2 separate regions of the Homo sapiens genome follow, and region 2 is linked to region 1. The links are contacts of gene promoters, found by promoter capture Hi-C in blood cells and fetal thymus (Javierre and others, 2016). All regions are on one chromosome and are shown on one strand. The core of a region is centred on a gene start or on the middle of the fragment in contact, and the rest is flanking DNA. Distances in the headings are between cores, read along the strand shown.

Region 1 (5,553 bases), core at 910-3,409:
TCAGGCTTAGGCCTTATCTCTCAGTAGAGCCATATAAGGTATGTGTAAAAGCAGGAAAATGTTTCCTGGGGATGAAGCTTTGAAAAGCTTTTTTTTTTTTTTCTTTTGGCAATAAAATAAGGTAGATTCAGCACAATACCTAATAACTAAAAAATCTGTTTTTAATTGGGTGGGGCAGACAGCAAGTGTGTCATCCTGGAAGATACTATTTGGGATTTTATGTAGGTACATAAGAGAAAAAAGTGAACAAAAGCAAGGGGCTACCAGGACGCCGCAGTATGCTTAACATGTATTTTCTAAGTTTGTATTATGCCTTTATCTTGGTACTTTTATCTTCTGTTCTCACTTGATCTTTTTGAAATGTATTTTAAATCCTAATAAAAATATATAAAGTCTGGAATTAATAAAGGATTAAATGAAACTTTTGTATATCTCACTGAAATTCTCAGAAAAAAGGGGGGTGTGGGGAGGGGGAATTGCCTGGGGTAGTGAGTGAAAATTGTGACCAGGTTCTTACTAAGGAATATGGCAACTGCATAATCAAATGTCAGTGGTTACCAAACTTATGAATCACCTGGTGTTGTGTCATAGATTGTCTATCCTTGCCTCTCGCCCCCAGTGATTTAGATCAGTGGAACTATGTGGGGTTTAAGAAATATACAATATATATTTGTATATATTTGTGTGTCTCGAAAGCTTCAGGGTTAAATAAGTTTTAACTGTTTAGGAAACACTATTGTTTTAGGTATCCAGTCTCAAAGACGAAGGCCTTTAAAACTTACTTAATTTTTCATTACATTTCTTGCCCAGAAAATTGTAAAATACCCAACGATAACAATGGGGAATTGTCTATCAGCACTTGACTAAAAAGCTTTACTATCCATGACAGCAGCCTTTGCATTACTCAATTCTGATGGCATTTAACGTCTTGAAACCCAGAAATAAATACCTATAGACTCACAGTACCTGAAAGGAATACCAAATTGAGACAAGAGAGCTATATAAACCAAAAATTGCTTCAACCACAGAATGGAGGTCTACAGGTGCGGAAGGAAAGTTTATATGGTGAGGCTTGGTCGCAAAACTATTAGGAATATTTTCAGGTTACTACACAATTTTGCGAGCTCAATATGCAGTTAACACTTTTTCCCTTGACTCTCCTGAGCAGATTTACATTGACCGCACCCGTAGCATATCGTCTCACTTTGGAAAAGGCAAATTATGTGCACATGACCCTGTCACTACAAGGTAGTTCTCGACCAAGCTACATCTTATAGCTTTATCTTATATTCCTCTCCCATCATCTGCAGGAAAAGGGATAGGTGCTGAGGGAAAACCCCTAAGTAGAACTCACAGTAAGCAGTGGGAAAACAGCTTATTTCACTAACGGGGTTAAGTGGCCCTGAAAAGAGCCTTTGGAGACAAAGCAGCCGGCGACCCGCGGAGGGAGGGAGGGAGGGAGCGAGCGAGCGCCAGGTCCCGGCAGGGACTCACTTGGAGCTGGCGTACTTGGTGACCGCCTTGGTGCCCTCGGACACGGCGTGCTTGGCCAGCTCGCCGGGCAGCAGCAGGCGCACGGCCGTCTGGATCTCCGGGACGTGATGGTGGAGCGCTTGTTGTAGTGCGCCAGGCGGGACGCCTCTCCCGCGATGCGCTCGAAGATGTCGTTGAGGAAGGAGTTCATGATGCCCATGGCCTTGCACCAGATGCCGGTGTCGGGGTGGACCCGCTTCAGCACCTTGTACACGTAGATGGAGTAGCTCTCCTTGCGGCTGCGCTTGCGCTTCTTGCCGTCTTTCTTCTGGGCTTTGGTGACGGCTTTCTTGGAGCCCTTCTTGGGAGCCGGCGCGAACTTTGCAGGCTCAGGCATGGCCAGACCCAAGACCGACACCGACCCCCGAGAACGCAAGCAGAGCGGTAGGCTCGGGGTCTACCGGAAACGACTGTGTACTTACAGAGGCTGTGCGCATGACGCTGCGTTATGGTTCGCGAGTTTTCCGCGGCGCGCAATGCGAGGGAGACGAGATTATGTAAATGAGTGGATTCTGGCTGAGCTATCCTATTGGCTATCGGGACAAAATTTGCTTGAGCCAATCAAAGTGCTCCGTGGACAATCGCCGTTCTGTCTATAAAAAGGTGAAGCAGCGGCGTTTTCGGCGACTTTCCCGATCGCCAGGCAGGAGTTTCTCTCGGTGACTACTATCGCTGTCATGTCTGGTCGTGGCAAGCAAGGAGGCAAGGCCCGCGCCAAGGCCAAGTCGCGCTCGTCCCGCGCTGGCCTTCAGTTCCCGGTAGGGCGAGTGCATCGCTTGCTGCGCAAAGGCAACTACGCGGAGCGAGTGGGGGCCGGCGCGCCCGTCTACATGGCTGCGGTCCTCGAGTATCTGACCGCCGAGATCCTGGAGCTGGCGGGCAACGCGGCTCGGGACAACAAGAAGACGCGCATCATCCCTCGTCACCTCCAGCTGGCCATCCGCAACGACGAGGAACTGAACAAGCTGCTGGGCAAAGTCACCATCGCCCAGGGCGGCGTCTTGCCTAACATCCAGGCCGTACTGCTCCCTAAGAAGACGGAGAGTCACCACAAGGCAAAGGGCAAGTGAGGCTGACGTCCGGCCCAAGTGGGCCCAGCCCGGCCCGCGTCTCGAAGGGGCACCTGTGAACTCAAAAGGCTCTTTTCAGAGCCACCCACGTTTTCAAATAAAAGAGTTGTTAATGCTGGCCACTCTCAGTCCAGCGTTCCTCAGTAGTGAATAGCGAACCTGGAGCTGACGGGACGGGACGGGACGGGACGGGACGGGACGGGGCGGGGCGGGGCGGGGTGTGTGTGTGTGCGCGCCGTCTTCCATCTGGAGCACGTAACTGCCTTGGCTCTTCGATGAGTGGGTCCCCAGTCCTAGGACTTCCCAGGGCAGGTGCAGGCACCAAACGTCCTGGGCGCCGCCACGGTCCGCTCCACACAGTCACAAACACCAGCGCCGCGGGCAGTACCCAACGCGCTGAAGTGTTGCGCGCGGAGCGCGCGCTTCCCTAGTGGTTTCCGCAGGCTATGGCCGGACACTTAGACCTAGTCTGGCACCAGCGGGACGTGCTCCTCGTCCCCACCCCCGATGGGGAGGGCCCTGAGCGGGTAGTGCTCGCTAGTGTGGCGGAGCTGGGTCTTGGCTTCACTGAGCTGACTTAAGTCTTAGTTTCTGTTTTGTTTTCCAAAGCGCCCTGGCGGCGGAGAGTAAGGGCCTCGGAGGCGGAATCTTGCGTCCTGGGGGCGGGCACCTCTCCCACCCAAAAGGCACCCGACAGGCGAAAAACGATCCGCCAAGTAGCAACTGGGGGCGGGGGGCAAATGGAAGAATGAGGTTCCACGCGGGAGCTGTAGGGCGCAGCAAGAAAGGGGGGGTATTGCGGGCAGTGTGTTCTAAGGAAGCGAAGGGCGGAAAGGGAACAATCTGACAAAGCTGCAATGGAAAATGACTTTCACCCTGAAGGAAAGGGGAAAAACAAGCTTGCGAAACTTCGCCAACTGGTAAGTAGAAAGTGAGGCGGGGTGGGCGGGATTAGGGAGGAATCTGCCCAAGCCAACCGGTGACTTTAGGACGGGTGACGTCACAGCCAATGGACAGCCAGCGCGGGATTTTCAATTATTGTTCCGCCCAATCGGGAAAAGACTGTGCTTATAAAGACGGCTGCGGCGGGGCTAGGAGCTCGTTTTTCTCCCCGCCGCTGCGCTGGTAAGCCTGTGTTTTGGTTCGCTATGGCCCGTACTAAGCAGACTGCTCGCAAGTCGACCGGCGGCAAGGCCCCGAGGAAGCAGCTGGCCACCAAGGCGGCCCGCAAGAGCGCGCCGGCCACGGGCGGGGTGAAGAAGCCGCACCGCTACCGGCCCGGCACCGTAGCCCTGCGGGAGATCCGGCGCTACCAGAAGTCCACGGAGCTGCTGATCCGCAAGCTGCCCTTCCAGCGGCTGGTACGCGAGATCGCGCAGGACTTTAAGACGGACCTGCGCTTCCAGAGCTCGGCCGTGATGGCGCTGCAGGAGGCCAGCGAGGCCTACCTGGTGGGGCTGTTCGAAGACACGAACCTGTGCGCCATCCACGCCAAGCGCGTGACCATTATGCCCAAGGACATCCAGCTGGCCCGCCGCATCCGTGGAGAGCGGGCTTAAGAAGTGGCGGTTCGGCCGGAGGTTCCATCGTATCCAAAAGGCTCTTTTCAGAGCCACCCACATCAGCACTTGGAAGAAGCTGTACCGCTTGCCCTCCGTGCTCCTCCGGCATTAGAGCGGGGAAGGCACTTCCGCTTAGGCTCCCAACAAAACGGGGTCGGGTCCCCCTGCTGCGGTGCCGTCTTGAGCTTTGCCGACTTCGGCCAATTGGCCTATCCGCACTGGCCGGGCTGCGGACGCTTTCCTGGGCGCCGGCTCGCGGGCTTTGGCGGTCCGGCTCCCCCCGCGCGTGACCGGGGCCCTGCGTGGCGGGGGGGCCGGGGCAGGAGAGACGGGGCGTCGGGCACGAGGCCAGGGGTCACTAGGGGGACGCTCAGGGCTCGCGGTCCTGAGCGCGGCTGGCCTTTGCGGAAGTGGAGCGCCACACGCCCGTGCTTCGCGCCCAAACCGGCCTCACCCGGCGCGGCCATCCGGCTAGGGAGGGAAATGACCACCTCGGCCTCGCCGGGGTTCTGCGGACAAACGTGGGGAGAACTGCGCTGGGGCTGCCGTTCAGTCCCCGCGCCACCTCCACTAGCACAGTGGTAACCCCCATATCCTGCCCCTAAGCCAAAATTCCCGGGGGCACGGGGTGTGGGCGGAATTTTGTGAATCTGGGCTTTATCGAGCCGTTCCCTGTCCATGTCCACAGAAGGAGATTCACTATTCCAGTGAAGGCACTCGGTCCTCTTAGAAGCTGCATGGTATGTCTGGATTTTCTGTCCAGACTCAGTAGTTCCTTTACGTTGTTTTCGTCGGACATGTGGGCAGACGCTGGTGCCCGAGTTCAGATCCTTGGGAAGACAGTAGATCAGACAGGAAGAACGTGGGCCTCCGTTGGGCAAATGAAGCTCTTCGCCTTAGGAAATCGTGACAGGAGGCCACAGAGGTGATCTCTACAGTCTCTGGGAGCTGGGAAGTCCAAGGCCTCTTAGTGGGAAAGTGAGGCAGGGTCTTGCAGAGCCCACTCTACACACGGCCAGATACAAATGGCTGTAGAGGTCTTAGATAACACCTTCTCGGTCATTTATTTGCACCTCAGAAGAAGCCAGGGCTTCGGTTTTCTGTTTGTTTCATCACAGTTGACAGGTTAAAAGCATTCACTGCAGCGATCTATGAGAATTAAGAGGGGAGAAGGGGAAATGGAATAAAACTTCGTTTTGTAAAGCTGCCATTTTGCCTTTCCTGAGGCGTGTTAAGCGAGGAGAGCAGCGTAGGTGAGCTCTGCTGGGGACTGCCACATGTTTCTGCTCCAGGGTCACAGCAATTTCTAGAGCATGCCTCTGGGTCTCTGCCGAGACCCTCGTAACCTGCTTAGGCCCACAATGTATGGGCGGTATTCTGACTTCAAA
Region 2 (5,810 bases), core at 1,756-4,255, 1.1 Mb after region 1:
TTAAATGACTTCTCCAAGCAATAGCTTTGTCTTTATGTTATCCTGTATTTCAAAACGTTCATATATAAATTCTCTCAACTATGACTTGTTTCATAGGGTCTAATAATTGTTCCTCTGCTGAGTTATTCTCAGCAGATTTAGATTCATTTAGCAAATGTTTATTGAGCACTAACTATATACCAGGCCCTGTTCTGGGCATTCAGGATATAGCAGCAAACACAATAATTTAAAATCCCTGTCCAGTGAAGTGTATATTCTTGTAGGCTCTGTAAAAAGATGCCCTGTGCATTGTCATGGTTATTTCTCAGTCCCTGACTCTTCTTCCGTCACTAGATGTTTTTCTTACTCATGTGATCAGTTGCTAATTCAGACGTGGCTGTCATGCCTGTGTTATTAAGTAACGCCATGTTTCCCAATCAAAACCAGTCTCTATTAAGCAACTCCAAATATTCCAAAAGCATTCTTTAAGGAAGAAACAGCCGGATTGCAAAATAGTTTTTTCTGAAATTTCAAGAAGTGAAAAGTTTGATCAGAATTTATTATGTCAAATGGAGAGTTTGTGTTTATTATTAAAATATGCCCTATATTTTAATATGGTCTAGCTTGTGTCTATCTGGCTATTTCTCTAAGTGTTTAGTTAACTGTTATAAGAAGATAACAACATTACAAATGTCCTTGGGGGTGAAAAAACTTGCCAGAAAATACTAAAAAGCTTAATTTACTTGCGTTTTTTTTTGTAGTACTTATTGTATTTTAGTTACAACTTTCCTATGTCTATTGAAATATAAATCCTGATAGCTTTAACTTCGTAGTAGTCTCTACTATGTGGAGAATCTTAGAAATGTTAGCAGTCATCATTGAAGTATAGCTTAAGACTGTGTTTGGTTAATTGAATTTTCTGGTTATCTGAGTTTGTTTTACATGGATTATCATTATCGTTTTTCAAAATATAAGAGAATATGATTCAGACCATTAGAAGATTATGAAGATAATAATTATTAACATGTAATAATTATTATAATTTATCATGTGCAGGCATTGTTGCTCACTTTACAGGCAATCTCATGTACATACAACTTTATGACATAGTTACTGTTATTATCCCCAATTATAGATGAAGAAACTAGGTTTTAAATAGGTTACATGACTTGACCAATGTCACATAACTTGTACAGGTGATATCTGAACCAAAGAGTCTGAGGCCAGAACCTGCACTTCTAACCACCTTACTATATAGCCTCAAAAATTCAGACATAATCTGATCAGCATCATCAGTTAATTAGTATATGCAATGTTAGCCTCAAAATAAAAATGATGATTTAAGATTCATGGTTGTTGCAGTGCTGCTCATTTTGGTTATTTTTAATGCCTTAATACTTTCGGTAAAATACTTCCAGGGACTAATTAATGTTTTCCTTTTTTCCTCTTTGACAGCATTGGATTCAAAGGCTAACAATTTGTCCAGTCTGTCCAAGAAATACCGCCAGGATGCGAAGTACTTGAACATGCATTCCACTTATGCCAAACTTGCAGCAGTAGCTGTATTTTTCATCATGTTAATAGTGTATGTCCGATTCTGGTGGCTGTGAAATAATGAATACAGTCACTGGTAAGGGAGAACCTAGAACCCAGTAGGTGTATATTTTCAGGAAACTGAGCTCACAGAGATGTGTATTAGAATCCAAGTGGAACTTCTGCCTCTAAAGACCTTGCAAGAAAAGAGATGTCCTGAAAATGAAAGGTTGCACCTCATTTAATGAAGCTTAACCCTATGTAGAAAGTCTCTTTCGGGGGCAGAGGCTTTCTCTGGGTGCCAAGCCATATATATTAGGGAATAGTAGATTGTTATTTCGTTTTTTCCCTCCCAGTGCATTTTAAAAACAGCACTGGCTGGGCATTCTCATTCTCTGATGGAGCCATCAATGAGATTTAACTTAGTCAACCTGTGCTAGCAACATTCTGAAATTCCTTCAAAGAAGGCAGTCCTTTGGGAAGGTGTTTTTTTTTTTTTGTTTTTTTGTTTTTTTGTTTTTTTTTGACTCTAATCAACATTCCTTTTGTTGGTGACATTTGTGATTTTCAGTAATCTGAGTTTTTGATGGCCTTTTAAACAAGACTCCAGTATGTGAAGGTTAATTGCTGTGCTCCACAGATCTTGTCTATTGGCCCCTGTAGAAAGTTAACCTTTGTTGTTTTCCTTTTATAATTTGCTTATTGCACAATTGCTTTAGGGTAAGTGAATTATATTAAGATGCCTTGAAATTATAGCACTCCTTGATTAAGAAGCTAAAATGTTTCTCTCATTTACTCCTTAAACAAAAGACTTAAATTAGTTTGGGTCATTATTACTTTTATTTTGCAGCATTTGGTTTGTTATTAGTGTAAGAGCAAGTATAGGATATGGAGAGGCCCCTGGCTTCATGAGAACAAAGGCAGGCCCAGGTTATAATTACAGCTTTCTCCTGCCCCTTCTTTACTTTCTCTACCACAGTTTTCTCCGCTGTTTGTTTTCCTCTTGCCACAATTTGCTAACACTTAAAAAATTTTCCTGCACCCAGTAGTTTCATATCCTGTAGACATCCTCTTAGGACATTCTCAAATTTCAAAATAAAAAATATTCATCTATGTAGTTAATTAAAGTTAAAGTTTCTGCAGATCAACTACTCAAACTACTAAATACATTTACCTGAGAAAAAGTCTCTGAGAGCACTTCATTCCTGTTTTAGTTCGTGTAAATTCTCTGAGAATGTTCTGGAGATAGATAACTCATTTACAGTGGTTTCTATTAACTAATTAAAGTACCCATGATTTTTTCCTTTTCTGCTCAGGGATGATGGAGATTTCCTTTTACCTTTTTTAATGGGGTAAATTTTTTAATGGGGAAAATAGGCCTTTTAAATATTATTGCCAGGGTCTGCAATATAACTTAAAATTCCTGTACATACTGCAAATATTTCTTTAAATTGCACAGGAAAATGAGCGAACTTTTTATTTCTTAATATCTTTGGCAAAAAACTTTAACCAGTAAGCAATTTTATAACCCTGAGGGATCATCAAAGATACTATCCTGATTCCTGGTAAGGAAAAATATATTATTTCCTTATAACAAGGCAAGGAGAAATGCTATTTTATTCCTGATAATTTATATAGCTAGAATAATTTTTTTCCTTTCTTTTATGGACCTAAATCTGCCAATTGGGAATTTTGTGCATGAAATATGAAGTTACTTTTTATAGATAATCAGTGCTTTTAAGTCCCTAAAAGGCTCCTGCTGAAGTAATGATGAAGTTCATAATAAAAGCCTTTGAAAGGCTGAAAACCTACATAGTGGTACCATAGTATTTGGAGCTTCTATAGGAGTGGAGAGGGGCAGCTCATTGTTGAGAGTTGCATGCTGCAACCTAATGGTCAGCAATGAAAGAAATACTTGTAGAATGTTCACTTCAGTGTGAAGTTTTGTTATCTAGTTAATTTATATACATATATCCTTTGTAGATACATTTCTATCTAATCTTGTTGAGCTAATTAAGAAATAAGGGGTGGGGTAATTGTCAACAAAGGGAGAAGAAAGTGGTTTAAGATCAGGGCAGCAGAAAAATTAGAGAACAAGAATATCATAATATGGCTCCTGGTTTTCTTTATAAGAGGCAGTGGGAAGATCTGACTAGATGAAATGTATCATCAACCAAACTGGCATCTAAAATAGAATGGGATAAATACTGTATGGGGTTATTGGAGGCATATTAAGAAAGGACACCTAATTTATTTTGGGAAGAAGTATGTTAAGAGAAGACTTTCTAGAGAAGGAGAATGGGGCATTCTAGGAAGAGTCAATGGCATGTGCAAAGGCATGAATAAAGACAGTGAGGCATGTTTTGGAAATGTAACAGCTTGATTCAGCTTAGCCCATAGGGTAAGCATAGACAACAGAGGAGACTTGAGGAATGAGAACTAGATGGGTACACTATCATAAAGGGACTTGTCTATCATGCTGAGGAGTTTAGACCATCTTAATGGTAGTGGCCAAGGATGGCATCAGATTTATAGTTTCAAGTGATCATAATATTGGCATAAAAGATATATTAGGGAGGAAGCCTGAAGTAGGGAGATGAAAATAAGGAGCCATCAAAGGCAGAATGAAACTTAGGCAGATTTCAAGTGATTTTCAAAAATGATGTGATCAGAGGTACCAGATAATAACTATTACATAACACTTTCTTTGTTAGGAGCTTATTTCTCACACTGACCAAAGCTTTTGAAGTAAGTACTCTTTACACCACTATATAAATAAACCTTACAAAGGATTCTGCTTTGAGGCATGAGAGAGTTAAGTCATTTGCCCAAAGTCACAGAGTTAGAAAGTAATAGAGCTAAGATTTGAACCTAGGCAGTTTGGCTCCAGAGTCTGTGCTCTTACACTATATTACCACCAAGAGGTCAAATAAATACCAAAGAATGTATTTTCGAATTTAACAATGAGGAACTTAATCATACAGGCAGAAGTAATTCCAGAGCACCGGAGACAGAAGCCAGATTGCCATATGGGTTAAAGAGTGTGTAAACCACTAGGAAGTAAAGACATAGAACTACTCTCACAAGTGCTTTTCTGGTTATTGTGACGCTGAACTTCATGGCTTGTTTTAATTAAGACATCTTACAAGTGTCAAAATTTGGAAATATTTGGACACTGTACACTCTGGTTATTTAAATATCTAACAGTGGTTCTTGAGCATTTTGAGAAACCTTTGAAAATCTGATGAAAGGTATGTGCCATTACTCTAGAAAAATGTTCCTGTGTACATGCACATCAAGTATCACATACTGTTTCAGGCTGTTCAAAGACTACAAAGTCTGTTCATGACCTAATGGTCCATGTTCCCTCAGTTAAGAGCTCCAGAGATAAAGGATGTGGAACTCAAAGGTAAGTACCCAGAGCCTTGAAAACTCCATTTGTGACTTGGAAGAATTCTACAATTTGAATTAACTTTGTGGAGAGAGATATATTTTTGAAAAATTGTGTGTACCAAAAAAATTTCATATCAAATAATATTTTCCTGTAGTGCATTCAAGGATCTGGTTCCACAGCAAAAAATTGTTTTGGTCTCAGTTCCTCAAAATCACATTTAAGGAGCTTGAGATTTATATTTTCTACTTAATAAGTCTTACAAAAGCAAGTTAAGAAGGAAAATGGACAATCATTTCTGCACATGTAGGGTTTAATAAAACATGTATAATGAAATATTTCATATTTTAAATTTCCACCTTATTGGTAGCTTTCATGACAAAGGGCTAGGGTGCTGGTGGCCATACAATTAAGGTTTTTGGTTAGTTAGTTAGCAGAACTAACTGACTCCTACCTGGTGGGTTTTTCTTTTGTTTGTTTGTTTGGTTGGTTGGTTTTTTCCCAGATGGCTCAGGAGGAAGGTAAATAGCAGTCATTGTATGTGTGACAGAGTTTGAGATAGAATGAGCATATTGAATCCCACATCCTGTTCTTATTACTGTCAGGCAGCGTTGACCTAGCAGTATAAAACTATCTGAAGCAATGTAGTCACTCAGTTCTCATAAAGTTTATTTCAAGTACTGTAACAATTCATGTTTGGATTAGAAAAGTCACTAGAAATTTGACTTCCATATAGTAATCTATACTTTTTTCTCTCATTTCCTTCATTTTTTGAGCCGTAAGTGTAAGGCATTTTGGTGGTATTATTACAATGGTTATGAGGAGTTTCTTTGCTTGCCCAAGGTCACATAGCTAGCAAGTTAAAGTAGATTCAAATCCAGGCCTGCTAGATACCAAATTATTATTT

Evidence for each region. The method cuts DNA at HindIII sites, captures the fragments that hold promoters and counts their contacts. A CHiCAGO score of 5 or more calls a contact.
Region 2: a fragment that was not itself captured here is called in contact with the fragment with the promoter of H2AC18 in region 1 in 4 of 17 cell types (M1 macrophages, M0 macrophages, M2 macrophages and 1 more); the score reaches 12.3 in M1 macrophages.

The regions. Positions count from the first base shown.
Region 1 is chr1:149,839,356-149,844,908 of GRCh38, reverse strand. H2AC18 (H2A clustered histone 18) reads left to right here and starts at 2,159. Exons shown (of 1, transcript NM_003516.3): 1 at 2,159-2,691. The coding sequence starts at 2,211. The coding sequence ends at 2,603. H3C14 (H3 clustered histone 14) reads left to right here and starts at 3,701. Exons shown (of 1, transcript NM_021059.3): 1 at 3,701-4,222. The coding sequence starts at 3,752. The coding sequence ends at 4,162. It also overlaps the pseudogene H2BC19P and a transcript of H4C15 not described here. RefSeq lists an enhancer at 3,860-4,433. The HindIII fragment of the contact is 2,631 bases long and covers 874-3,504 here.
Region 2 is chr1:148,768,419-148,774,228 of GRCh38, reverse strand. It overlaps the pseudogene SEC22B3P. Among named protein-coding and RNA genes, the nearest start is that of NUDT4B, 23 kb to the right of the region's middle. RefSeq lists enhancers at 1,312-1,870, 1,871-2,430. The HindIII fragment of the contact is 2,490 bases long and covers 1,761-4,250 here.